3 separate regions of the Homo sapiens genome follow, and all the other regions are linked to region 2. The links are contacts of gene promoters, found by promoter capture Hi-C in human tissues and cell types (Jung and others, 2019). All regions are on one chromosome and are shown on one strand. The core of a region is centred on a gene start or on the middle of the fragment in contact, and the rest is flanking DNA. Distances in the headings are between cores, read along the strand shown. Region 1 overlaps UBE4B (ubiquitination factor E4B). Region 2 holds the start of RBP7 (retinol binding protein 7). Region 3 overlaps UBE4B (ubiquitination factor E4B).

Region 1 (3,512 bases), core at 504-3,003, 140 kb before region 2:
CAAAAATCCTAAACAGAATATTAGCAAATTGTATATCCAATTAGATATAAAAACATTAATATAAAAGTTAAGTTTACTCCAGGAAAGAAAGACTGGTTTAATAACAGAAAACCAACTGATATAATTCAACCACATTAACAGAATAGAGAAGAAAAAAGTCTAGTCTCCTCAACAGATATGGCAAAAGTATTTAATAAAATTCAACCAGTGCTAAGGGAACTAACTATTGAAATAAAAGGAAATTTTCTTAATCTGGTAACTGAGGATATATAGAAAGCTTTCCTCCACCAACTGAAACAAGATGGAAATTTCAAGGTTATTTCTATTCAACATTGTACTAAAAATTACAGCCTGGGCACTAAGGCATGAAAAAAAAAGTAAAAGAAATAAAATTGTCATCATTTATAGACATGATTATGTGTAGAAAGTAAATCATAAAGAATTTGCAGAGTTAACTATTAGAATTAGTAAGTGATTTTAGGCCAGGCACGGTGGCTCACACCTGTAATCTCAGCACTTTGGGAGGCGGAGGCAGTCGGATCGCCTGAGGTCAGGAATTTGAGACCAGCCTGACCAACATGGAGAAACCCCGTCTCTACAAAAAATACAAAAAATTGGGCCAGGTGCATGGGCTCACGCCTGTAATTCCAGCACTTTGGGAGGCTGAGGCGGGCGGATCACGAGGTCAGGAGATCAAGACTATCCTGGCTAACACGGTGAAACCCCGTCTCTACTAAAAATACAAAAAATTAGCTGGGTGTGGTGGTGGGCGCCTGTAGTCCCAGCTACTCAGGAGACTGAGACAGGAGAATTGCTTGAACCCAGGCGGCAGAGATTACAGTGAGCCGAGATCATGCCATTGGACTCCAGCCTGGACTACAGAGTGAGACTCCATCAAAAAAAAAAAAAAAATTGGCCAGGCGTGGTGGTGCACATCTGTAATCCCAGCTACTCGGGAGGCTGAAGCAGGAGAATCGCTTGAACCTGGGAGGCAGAGGTTGCACCGAGCTGAGATCGTACCACTGCACTCCAGCCTGGGCAACAGAGCGAGACTCCGTCTCAAAAAAAAAAAAAAAAAAAAAAAAAAAAAAAGAATTAGTAAGTGATTTAAGCAAGGTAGATACAGAGATATAAATATGATTCAGTTTCTCTCATAGACAGACTACGCAGGTTCTAGACCAAAAAGCAGAAGTGGCATCATTATTATTCCAGATAACCTGCTCAAAAATATTTGCTTCTGTGTTCCTGTGACTTCTGTTTGTTGGTGTTAGTACACAGGAAAAAATGCTTAGAGTAAGAAACACAACCATGGTGCTAATGAATTGGAAATTTGAGGCTGCTATCTGGCCATTTTGGACCCCTCATGCCACAGAACAAGCCAAAAAGAGAATTACATGTAGGCAGGAGTAAATGATCCTGGTTATCAAGGGAAACCATGGTTACTTTTTCACAGTCCAGGGAAGAAGGGGTATGTCTGAAACCCAGGGGATCCTTTAAACTTTTAAAGTTTGAAGTGCCTCCTGGTAATGTATGCCCAGTGGGAAAAGTTAATGGAAGTCTGTAGTAACCATAAACAGAGTGAAATATCCAGGGTTCAGAACTCTCAGAAATCAAGGTTTGGATCACTTCACCAGGTAAAGAACTCTGGACAACTGAGCAACATGGATGTGGCGGTGGAGGCAGACAGAACACTATATAACGTACATACCTCCCCCAACATTCAAAACTACTGTTCACAATGGAATTGCCTGCCCCTGAGAAAAAGTGGTAACTCAGGCAATCCCAGGACACGGTATCATGGCACATACCTATTGAGCTCCCGGATAGCCCGGAGTCTGCGGATATAGCGACGGCAACTAGGCAGAATAGAGAGGTGGTGAGCATGCAGGGTGAGAAAGAAGCACTCCGTAGGGAATTTCGGCTCAGAAAATGGAGGCTGATCGCCATCTAGGAAAAATAACATCATTCCCTAAATAAAATCTATTACATGTCTCAATCAGAGAAAAAGCTGAATTCAGAAGAGAAAATTACATTTGAATTTTTATGAAGTTTAAAGATACTTTTTATTTGTTTATTTATTTATTTATTTATTTGAGATGGACTTTTGCTCTCGTCACCCAGGCAGAAGTGCAATGGCACGATCTTGGCTTACTGCAAATTCCGCCTCCCAGGTTCAAGTGATTCTCCTGCCTCAGCCTCCCTAGTAAGCTGGGATTACAGGCGTGTGCTACCACACCTGGCTACTTTTGCATTTTTAGGAGAGACGAGGTTTCACCATGTTGCTCAGACTGGTCTCGAACTCCTGACCTCAGGCAATCTACCCTCCTTGGCCTCCCAAAGTGCTGGGATTACAGGCGTGAGCCACCATGCCCCGCCAGAAGTTTAAGGATACTTTTGCAATTATAAACTTAAACAATACTACAAGAAGAAGAGAATTCCTGTTAGCTCCATTCAAGGACCACCGTATTCTGTCCTACCTCGTTAAATGTGCATACAGATGTCCATCACAATCTTTTTTTTTTTTTTTTTTTAAGAGGGTCTTACTCTGTCACCTAGTGTCACCTAGGCTGCAGTGCAGTGCAGTGGTAAGATCACAGATCACTGCAGCCTCAATTTCCTGGGCTCAGGCAATCCTCCTGCCTCAGTCTCCTGGGTGGCTGGGAACACAGGCATGTGCCACCATGCTGGGCTAATTTTTTTCTTTGTAGACATGGGGTTTCCTTATTTTGCCCAGGCTGGTCTTGAACTCCTGGGCTCAAGCTCTCCTCCCACCTCAGCTTCCAAAAGTGCTGGGATTATGGATGTGAGCCACCATTCCCAGCCCATCAACAATCTTTGGTGATGTTCCTTACTGATGTATTGTATAAAATCTCCATTTTTCAACACAATACAGAAATATTTAAATCTCGAAATGGTATTAAATTATGTTAATAAACTACTGATTCCAGAGCCGTTTCCCTGCATATTTCTTTTTTCTAATTTTTTTCTATTATAAATAATGTTACTACTGGGAGGATTTATGTAAACAAAATTATTCCTTTTTCCTCCAACTTTGGGAATATAACCTGAAAAGTAGAATTATTGAGAACAACAGTATTATATTTTTTGCTATGAATCACCAGAATTCACTTCAGATAGGTTAAATAAATTGATTAAATATCACCTACTTCTTCAAAAACTTACATTCTATTTTATCACTTTGGTTTTGGCTTTTTTATAGATATATTATGATAACTTGATTTTTTTTTTCAATTTGTATCTGTTTTTTTTTTTTTTTTGAGACAGAGTCTCACTCTGTTGCCCAGGCTGGAGTGCAGTGCCGTGATCATGGCTCACTGCAAGCTCAGCCTCCTGGGTTCACACAATTCTCCTGCCTCAGCCTCCTGAGTAGCTGGGATTACAGGTGCGTGCCACCACACCCGCTAATTTTTGTATTTTTAGTAGAGATGGGGTTTCACCATGGTGATCAGGCTGGTCATGAACTCCGGACCTTTTGATCTGCCCACCTCAGC
Region 2 (3,437 bases), core at 753-3,252:
TGCCGCAGTTCCACGTGGCTGGGGAAGCCTCAAAATCATGGCAGAAGGCAAAAGGCACGTCTTACATGGTGGCAGGCAAGAGAGAATGAGAGCCAAATGAAAGGGGAAACCCCTTGTAAAACCATCAAATCTCATGAGACATTCACTACCACCAGAACAGTGTGGGGAAAACTACCCCATGATTCAATTACCTCTCCTCAGGTCCCTCCCACAACACATGAGAATTATGGGAACTACAACTCCCATGAGATTTGGGTGGGGACACAGCCAAACCATATCACTTGGCATTTGAGGAAATAACAGTAGCAGGAAGGTCCCCCTCAGACCTTCTTTTGCCCCTCTTCCCTGAAGCAGGCCATAAAAGAATTCTCTGCTCTTCCTCTGAAGAAGATCATAAGACTCTCAAGTGAGAGGTGCTTTTCCCATACCCAGAGGAACACTCTTATCTCTTGGGATATGAAAGAGCAAAATAAATGCCCCTTTATCAACTAAGATGGGCCCTAAGGTTAAGAAAACAAAAATTGGCCGGTGCGGTGCCTCACGCCTGTAATCCCAGCACTTTGGGAGGCCAAGGTGGGCAGATCACGAGGGCAGATGTTCGAGACCAGCCTGGCCAACATGGTGAAACCCCGTTTCTACTAAAAAATACAAAAATTAGCTGGGCGTGGTGGCGGGCGCCTATAGTCCCAGCTACTCGGAGAGGCTGAGGCAGGAAAATGGCGTGAACCCGGTAGGCGGAGCTTGCAGTGAGCCGAGATCGTACTACTGCACTCCAGCCTGGGCAACAGAGCGAGACTCCGTCTCAAAAAAAAAAAAAAAAAAGAAAGAAAGAAAGAAAGAAAAAAAGAAAACAAAAATTGCCCACGGGTCAAGGGTTCAGGGATTGGCCGGCACGGCAACTTCCCAGATTCCTAAAGCTACAAGAAAAACTACACTCGTGGCAGGGCGCGTGGCTCACACCTGTAATCCCAGCACTTTGGGAGGCCAAGGCGGGTGGATCACCTGAGGTCAGGAGTTGGACACCAGCCTGACCAATATAGTGAAACCCCTTCTCTACTAAAAGTACAAAATTAGCCGGACGTGGTGGCTGGCGCACGCGTGTAATCCCAGCTACTTGGAAGGCTGTGGCAGGAGAATCGCTTGAACCGAGGAGGCGGAGGTTGCAGTGAGTTGAGAGTCCGCGCACCGTTGGCACCGCGATGAGGGCGGGAAGCACAGCGCGGGGCCCCCGGGAGCAAGAACGCCGCGGGCACCCAGCCCTCGTGGGAGGCGGCGGTCGGGGCACGCCCCGGGCCGAACCAGGCTCTGCACTCCCGCGGGTGCCCGGACCTGAAGGGTCGTCCGCTGGCTCCAGGATTCTGCATCCCCGACCCGCTCCGGGTGCGCCGAGGCTGCTGGGACTTCGCTGCGGGAGCGCGCCCGGGGCCCCGGGGCCTGCACGGAAGGCGGCTGCGGGGAGGGTGGCCGGGCAGAGGCTTCGGTCCCGGGCGCCCCCTCCCCGGCCGGACCCCCCTCCCCGGCCGGACCCCGAGTCTGCAGTCTCCGCAGGTGTGCCGCGTGCGGGTAGAGACGGACGTGGGGCTGGACGCGGGCACTCAGGGACGGACGGGTGGGGGACCGACGGCCGGGGGAACAGAGGGCGTGGAGAGACGGCCGTGGGGACAGGGGGGCGGGTGGGCGCGGGAAAGGACGGACTGGGGGACTGAAGGACTGGGGTCCCGCGCCCGATGGACGGAGGCGCCAAGGACCAGCGGACTCGGGGGCGACTGGGCGACGGTGGGCGCAGCAGGGCGGAGGCACGGACAGAGGACGTACCTACAGGCCCGGCCCGGCCGCCTTCGCCTGATCCCGAGACCCACGGCGAGCCTCGCGCCGCCGCCGCCTCCCCTCCGCCTTACCTAGGGCCAGCATGTAGCCCTCGAAGTTGTCGCTGCTGAGCAGGGTCCAAGTACCGCTGAGGTCGGCGGGCATGGTCGGGGATCGCGGGACAAACCCGGCGGGCGGCCGGAGGCTCGGGCCGGGACCTATAAACCAGGCGGGGCGGGGCAGGGGGGTGGGGCCGCGCGCGGGAGGAGCAGGTGGGGCCGCGTGGGTCCCACTCACCCCTAGAAGCCGCTGCGCTCCCGGCCGCCTCAGCCCGGTGCTCCTGGCTCTGCCCACCGCGCGGCAGCTTCCCCCTTTCCTTGGGGCTTCCTCTCCTACTGCTTTCTCATGTCCCAGACTGTTTCGGGCCACATTTTCTTCCCTGCTTATATGTTAATGACCCAGGGATGATCTTCAAACTCATGGCATTGAATATTGTCAGCTTCAATAACAATATACCTCTCAACGTAACTCTCATGGTCTCAATAAATAGGAGTTTATTTTTCTTAACAAGGAGTCCTGAGAGAAGTGATTGCTGGTGATGATTCGCACCTAGGAATCACAGTGATTCGCACCTCGGTAACGCCGCAGCTTCGTCTCTGTGACTCTGGTGGCCTTTTATTCCTGCTTGTTACCTCCTGGTCATGAGCTGGCAGCTGGGTTCCCAGCCAGGACATCCACATTCAAGGTAGGGAAGAGGGAAAGCACCAAAGGTCAGTATCCCTGCAGCACAAACCTCCCCATCTCCTATAAGTCTGGATAGTTGGAAAAAAGAAAAGAAATTACCCAGCAGGTTTCTGTGTACATTTCATTAGCCAAAACTGTATCAATGCCACTTCTAACTGCAAGGGGGCCTGGGGATTCTAGTCTGCAGCATTTAGCCTCAGAGCAGAGAAAAGCAAAGGAGAAGGGGTGGGAATATGGGCTAACCTACAACATTAGCCACAAACACCGCCTAGATATGCTGGCTCCAAGACTGACTTATTGATTTTATTTTTATTTTTTTTCTTTTGAGACAGAGTCTCACTCTTTCTTTTTTCTTTTTTTTTTTTTTTTTGAGACGGAGTCTCGCTCTGTGCCCAGGCTGGAGTGCAGTGGAGAGATCTCGGCTCACTGCAAGCTCCGCCTCCGGGGTTCACGCCATTCTCCTGCCTCAGCCTCCCGAGTAGCTGGGACTACAGGCGCCCGCCAACACGCCCGGCTAACTTTTTATATTTTTATTAGAGACGGGGTTTCACCGTGTTAGCCAGGATGGTCTCGATCTCATGACCTTGTGATCCGCCCGCCTTGGCCTCCCAAAGTGCTGGGATTACAGGCCTGAGCCACTGCGCCCGGCAGAGAGGGAGTCTCACTCTATCGCCCCGGGCTGGAGGGCAGTGGTTCCATCTCGGCTCACTGCAACCTCCGCCTCCCAGGTTCAAGTGATTCTCCTGCCTCAGCCTCCCGAGTAGCTGGGATCACAGGTGCCCATCACCATGCCCAACTAATTTTTTGTATTTTTAGTGGAGATGGGGGTTTCATCATGTTGGCTAGGCTGGTCTTGAGCTCCTGACCTCGTGATTCGCCTGCCTCAG
Region 3 (3,510 bases), core at 620-3,119, 180 kb before region 2:
TCTACTAAAAATACAAAAAATTAGCTGGGCATGGTGGCGGACACCTGTAGTCCCAGCTACTCGGGAGGCTGAGGCAGGAGAATGGCGTGAACTTGGGAGGCGGAGCTTGCAGTGAGCCGAGATCGCGCCACTGCACTCCAGCCTGGGCGACAGAGCGAGACTCTGTCTCAAAAAAAAAAAAAAAATTAATACATGTAAGAGTGGCTTGCACATAGAATATGCTCATGAAATGCAAATGATCATCACCAATTCAGAATGACTTTCTTCACCAACACTATCTGACACCAGCATCAAGCTCATAGGCTACTGTGTCTCCTTCAATCAAAAACGTACCTTGAGGCCTGGTGTGGTGGCTCATGCCTGTAATCCCAGCACTTCGGGAGGCTGAGGCAGGTGGATCACTTGAGGTCTGGAGTTCAAGACCAGCCTGGCCAACATGGTGAAACCCCATCTCTACTAAAAAAAAAAAAAAAAAAAAAAAAAAATTAGCTGGACATGGTGGCATGTGCTCTAGTCCCAGCTACTCGGGAGGCTAAGGCAGGAGAATCACTTGAACCTGGAAGGTGGAGGTTGCAATGAGCCAAAATTGCGCCACTGCACTCCAGCCTGGGTGACGGAGCGAGACTCCGTCTGAAAAAAACCAAAAAACAAAAAAAAGTACCTACTCAAATGAGGCCTATTCATGTCACTTTAGCACTCCAATCAAATTGCTGTGAAATTCACTACTCGATGTACCAAACCCAGAGGTTACAAAAAGTGAACGGTGTGCTCAGCTTTTTTTTCAAAAGATATTCAATCAATATCTTTTTAAAATCTACACAACACTGAGTCACAACACAAGGCAGATTTTAATCATCTTTCTCTCAAGGATCATTTCTCTTCTGCCAATCTGATTCTCTTATTTGACAATCTTCCTTTTAGCCAAGACCTACTTTTAATATATTTTGGGATTTATTTCAATATCCACAATTAAGAGACTGCAGACAAACACAAAACAGCAACTCTTGAGACTCTAAAAATGGAAACCCAAATCATCTTCCCCCTATAGATAGTACAGGCAGGAGACTGACTGTGTCTCTGTCCTATCCGGCAGGTCCTTGAAACCTCTGAATTATTCAAAACGACAAGTGCATATGGCGGTATAAAGCAGCATTTTATTACATTCACGGGGACAACTGGAGGATTAAAATAAGAGTTTGGAATCTGGGATGGAGAGGAGACAAGCAGTACACACTGGTCAGATAACCACACAAACAAAATTAGGCAAGATGCCAGTCAGTATCCTAATTCTACAGGCACTAAGCTTAGATATGTAAGTTTAGTAAAAAGTAAACCCAATTAAACAGAATCTTCTGCATGGTGAGAATATGGATTTTTTTTCTTTTTGCTTATATTGCCTAAAATTTTTGCTATCATGAACTTTTTCCTTATTTATTGTGTCTATCTATCTATCTATTTTTTGAGACGAAGTCTCACTCTTGTCCCCTAGGCTGGAGTGCGATGGCGCGATCTCAGCTCACTGCAACCTCCACCTCCTGGGTTCAAGCAATTCTCCTGCCTCGGCCCCCCGAGTAGCTGGGATTATAGGCACCCACCACCACGCCCAGCTAATTTTTGTATTTTCAGTTGAGATGGGGTTTCACCATGTTGGCCAGGCTGGTCTAGAACTCCTGACCTCAGACGATACACCTGCCTTGGCCTCCCAAAGTGCTGGGATTACAGGCGTGAGCCACCGCACCTGGCCATGTTATATATATATATATAAATATATATAAATAAATATATATGTAAATATATATAAATATATATTTTTTCTTTTTTGAGACGGAGTCTCGCTGTCACCCAGGCTGGAGTGTGATGACGTCATCTCGGCTCACTGCAACCTCCACCTCCCAGGTTCAAGCAATTCTCCTGTCTCAGCCTCCCGAGTAGCTGGGACTACAGGCGCTGCCACTACGCCCGGCTAATTTTTTGTATTTTTAGTAGAGATGGGGTTTCACCATGCTGGCCAGGCTGGTCTCGAATTCCTGACGTCAGGTGATCCATCCGCCTCAGCCTCCCAAAGTGCTGGGATTACAGGCGTGAGCCACCGGGCCCGGCCTGAGGAAGAATCTTGAAGGTCAGGGAAGATACTTGAGATAAAGCAGAAGAAACTCAAGAAAGGCAGAAGACTGAATATGACAAAGCTTACCCCCTCAAATCAGCAAACAGTGAAATGAGAACCAAATGTCGAGACTGACATGAATAAGAAAGTTTTCTTTTAAAAATAGCAGCTCCTAATTGGATCCAGGAAAGATCATTCACCACATGCAAACTCACTTGGCTCTTGTTTACCCACCCGCCCTGCCCTTTTTTTTTTTCCACAAAAGAGAAGAGACTCAAAGAAGATTTCTTCTGAACGTGTGTCACCATTTATTGTAGTTTGCGTTAGGAATTGAACAGAGGACATTGTCTGTGGAGGGAAAAAAGGAAAAGAAAAAAGAAAGTATGCTTTTTATAGACTTAATTTCTTCAGAACACTTTATGGTTTCAAATCCTTTTTTTTTTTTTACCCCAAAGGAAATTTGAGAATTCAAGTATGTTAAGTAGGGAGCAGTAATACAAAAAGTCTTATACTTGTGTGCGCGTGTGGCTGTGTTTGTCTGTGTGTGTTGAAACCGGCAGACATACTCCCACATTCTTGCACCCTCTTTTGCTTTGGTAAGGCCAAACACATCACACAAATGACCCTGCCTCAAACTCACACACCCAAGGGTTGAAGAATTGATTTACCCCCAGAGGATAACTGTGAAGGTTTCAAACTGTCACGTAGCATTAAAAAAAAAACCCAACCCTCATCTCCCCAAAATATAAGTCACATAAGTCCTGATACACTTACACCCCTAGATTTTGCTGCAGCTGCTCCTCAGATGCCGAAGAGAGGCTTATCACAAGGACCAGAGCAGCAGGATTTTCTTTATTTTGTTTAGAATAAAAAAATCTTAAAGGGACATTTCAAAAGAAAAAAAAAACTGAAATTCAAATTCTGAAAATATCTTGCCTTTTTTATTAATCATGTCATCTAACACCAATTAAAAAAACAAATATGTGAATATGATATAAAAATACGATCCCAGGATTAACACTTGGTAGCAGGCACAGTTATCTCACAGAATATATGTTTGGAGGGCCAGGGAAAGGAGTTTACTTTTGTTTTTGCTTCTCTTAAAAAAATCCACAGCAGTGCAAGTAGGGTCAGGAAGGGGGAGAGGGGAAAAAAGATTCTTTAGCAGCAAAATGTCCAAGGTTCTCTAATCACAATCAAATCAACGGATATTGGATTAAAAAAAAATTCATGAAGGGATGCTGCCCAGACCCATTAGCCATCACTAAAAGACTTCCGTTGCCCCAAACTGTGACATACGAAGGACATGCTTTATTACACAAGCAACCATAAAACCTGTCCCTTAAGCTTTTGACCGTGTTTGTCACTTAAATATATGTACAGGAAGCGGGCTCCTCTTCTCATCC

What was found. The method cuts DNA at HindIII sites, captures the fragments that hold promoters and counts their contacts. A contact is called where the count stands out against the background at its distance.
Region 1: a contact is called between a fragment that was not itself captured here and the fragment with the promoter of RBP7 in region 2, in 2 of the 25 tissues and cell types used here (aorta and hippocampus).
Region 3: a fragment that was not itself captured here is called in contact with the fragment with the promoter of RBP7 in region 2 in 2 of the 25 tissues and cell types used here (aorta and dorsolateral prefrontal cortex).

The regions. Positions count from the first base shown.
Region 1 is chr1:10,135,502-10,139,013 of GRCh38, reverse strand. It overlaps UBE4B (ubiquitination factor E4B), which reads right to left. Exons shown (of 28, transcript NM_001105562.3): 17 at 1,809-1,947. Among named protein-coding and RNA genes, the nearest start is that of KIF1B, 73 kb to the left of the region's middle. The HindIII fragment of the contact is 4,742 bases long and covers 1-3,512 here.
Region 2 is chr1:9,995,793-9,999,229 of GRCh38, reverse strand. RBP7 (retinol binding protein 7) reads right to left here and starts at 2,002. Exons shown (of 4, transcript NM_052960.3): 1 at 1,899-2,002. The coding sequence starts at 1,971. It overlaps LOC124903840 (basic salivary proline-rich protein 2-like), which reads left to right and starts at 1,141. Exons shown (of 2, transcript XM_047436754.1): 1 at 1,141-1,548; 2 at 2,378-2,511. The coding sequence starts at 1,200. The coding sequence ends at 2,511. It also overlaps a transcript of NMNAT1 not described here. RefSeq lists a silencer at 53-253. The HindIII fragment of the contact is 9,171 bases long and covers 1-3,437 here.
Region 3 is chr1:10,180,118-10,183,627 of GRCh38, reverse strand. It overlaps UBE4B (ubiquitination factor E4B), which reads right to left. Exons shown (of 28, transcript NM_001105562.3): 28 at 2,389-3,510. Among named protein-coding and RNA genes, the nearest start is that of KIF1B, 29 kb to the left of the region's middle. The HindIII fragment of the contact is 5,206 bases long and covers 1-3,510 here.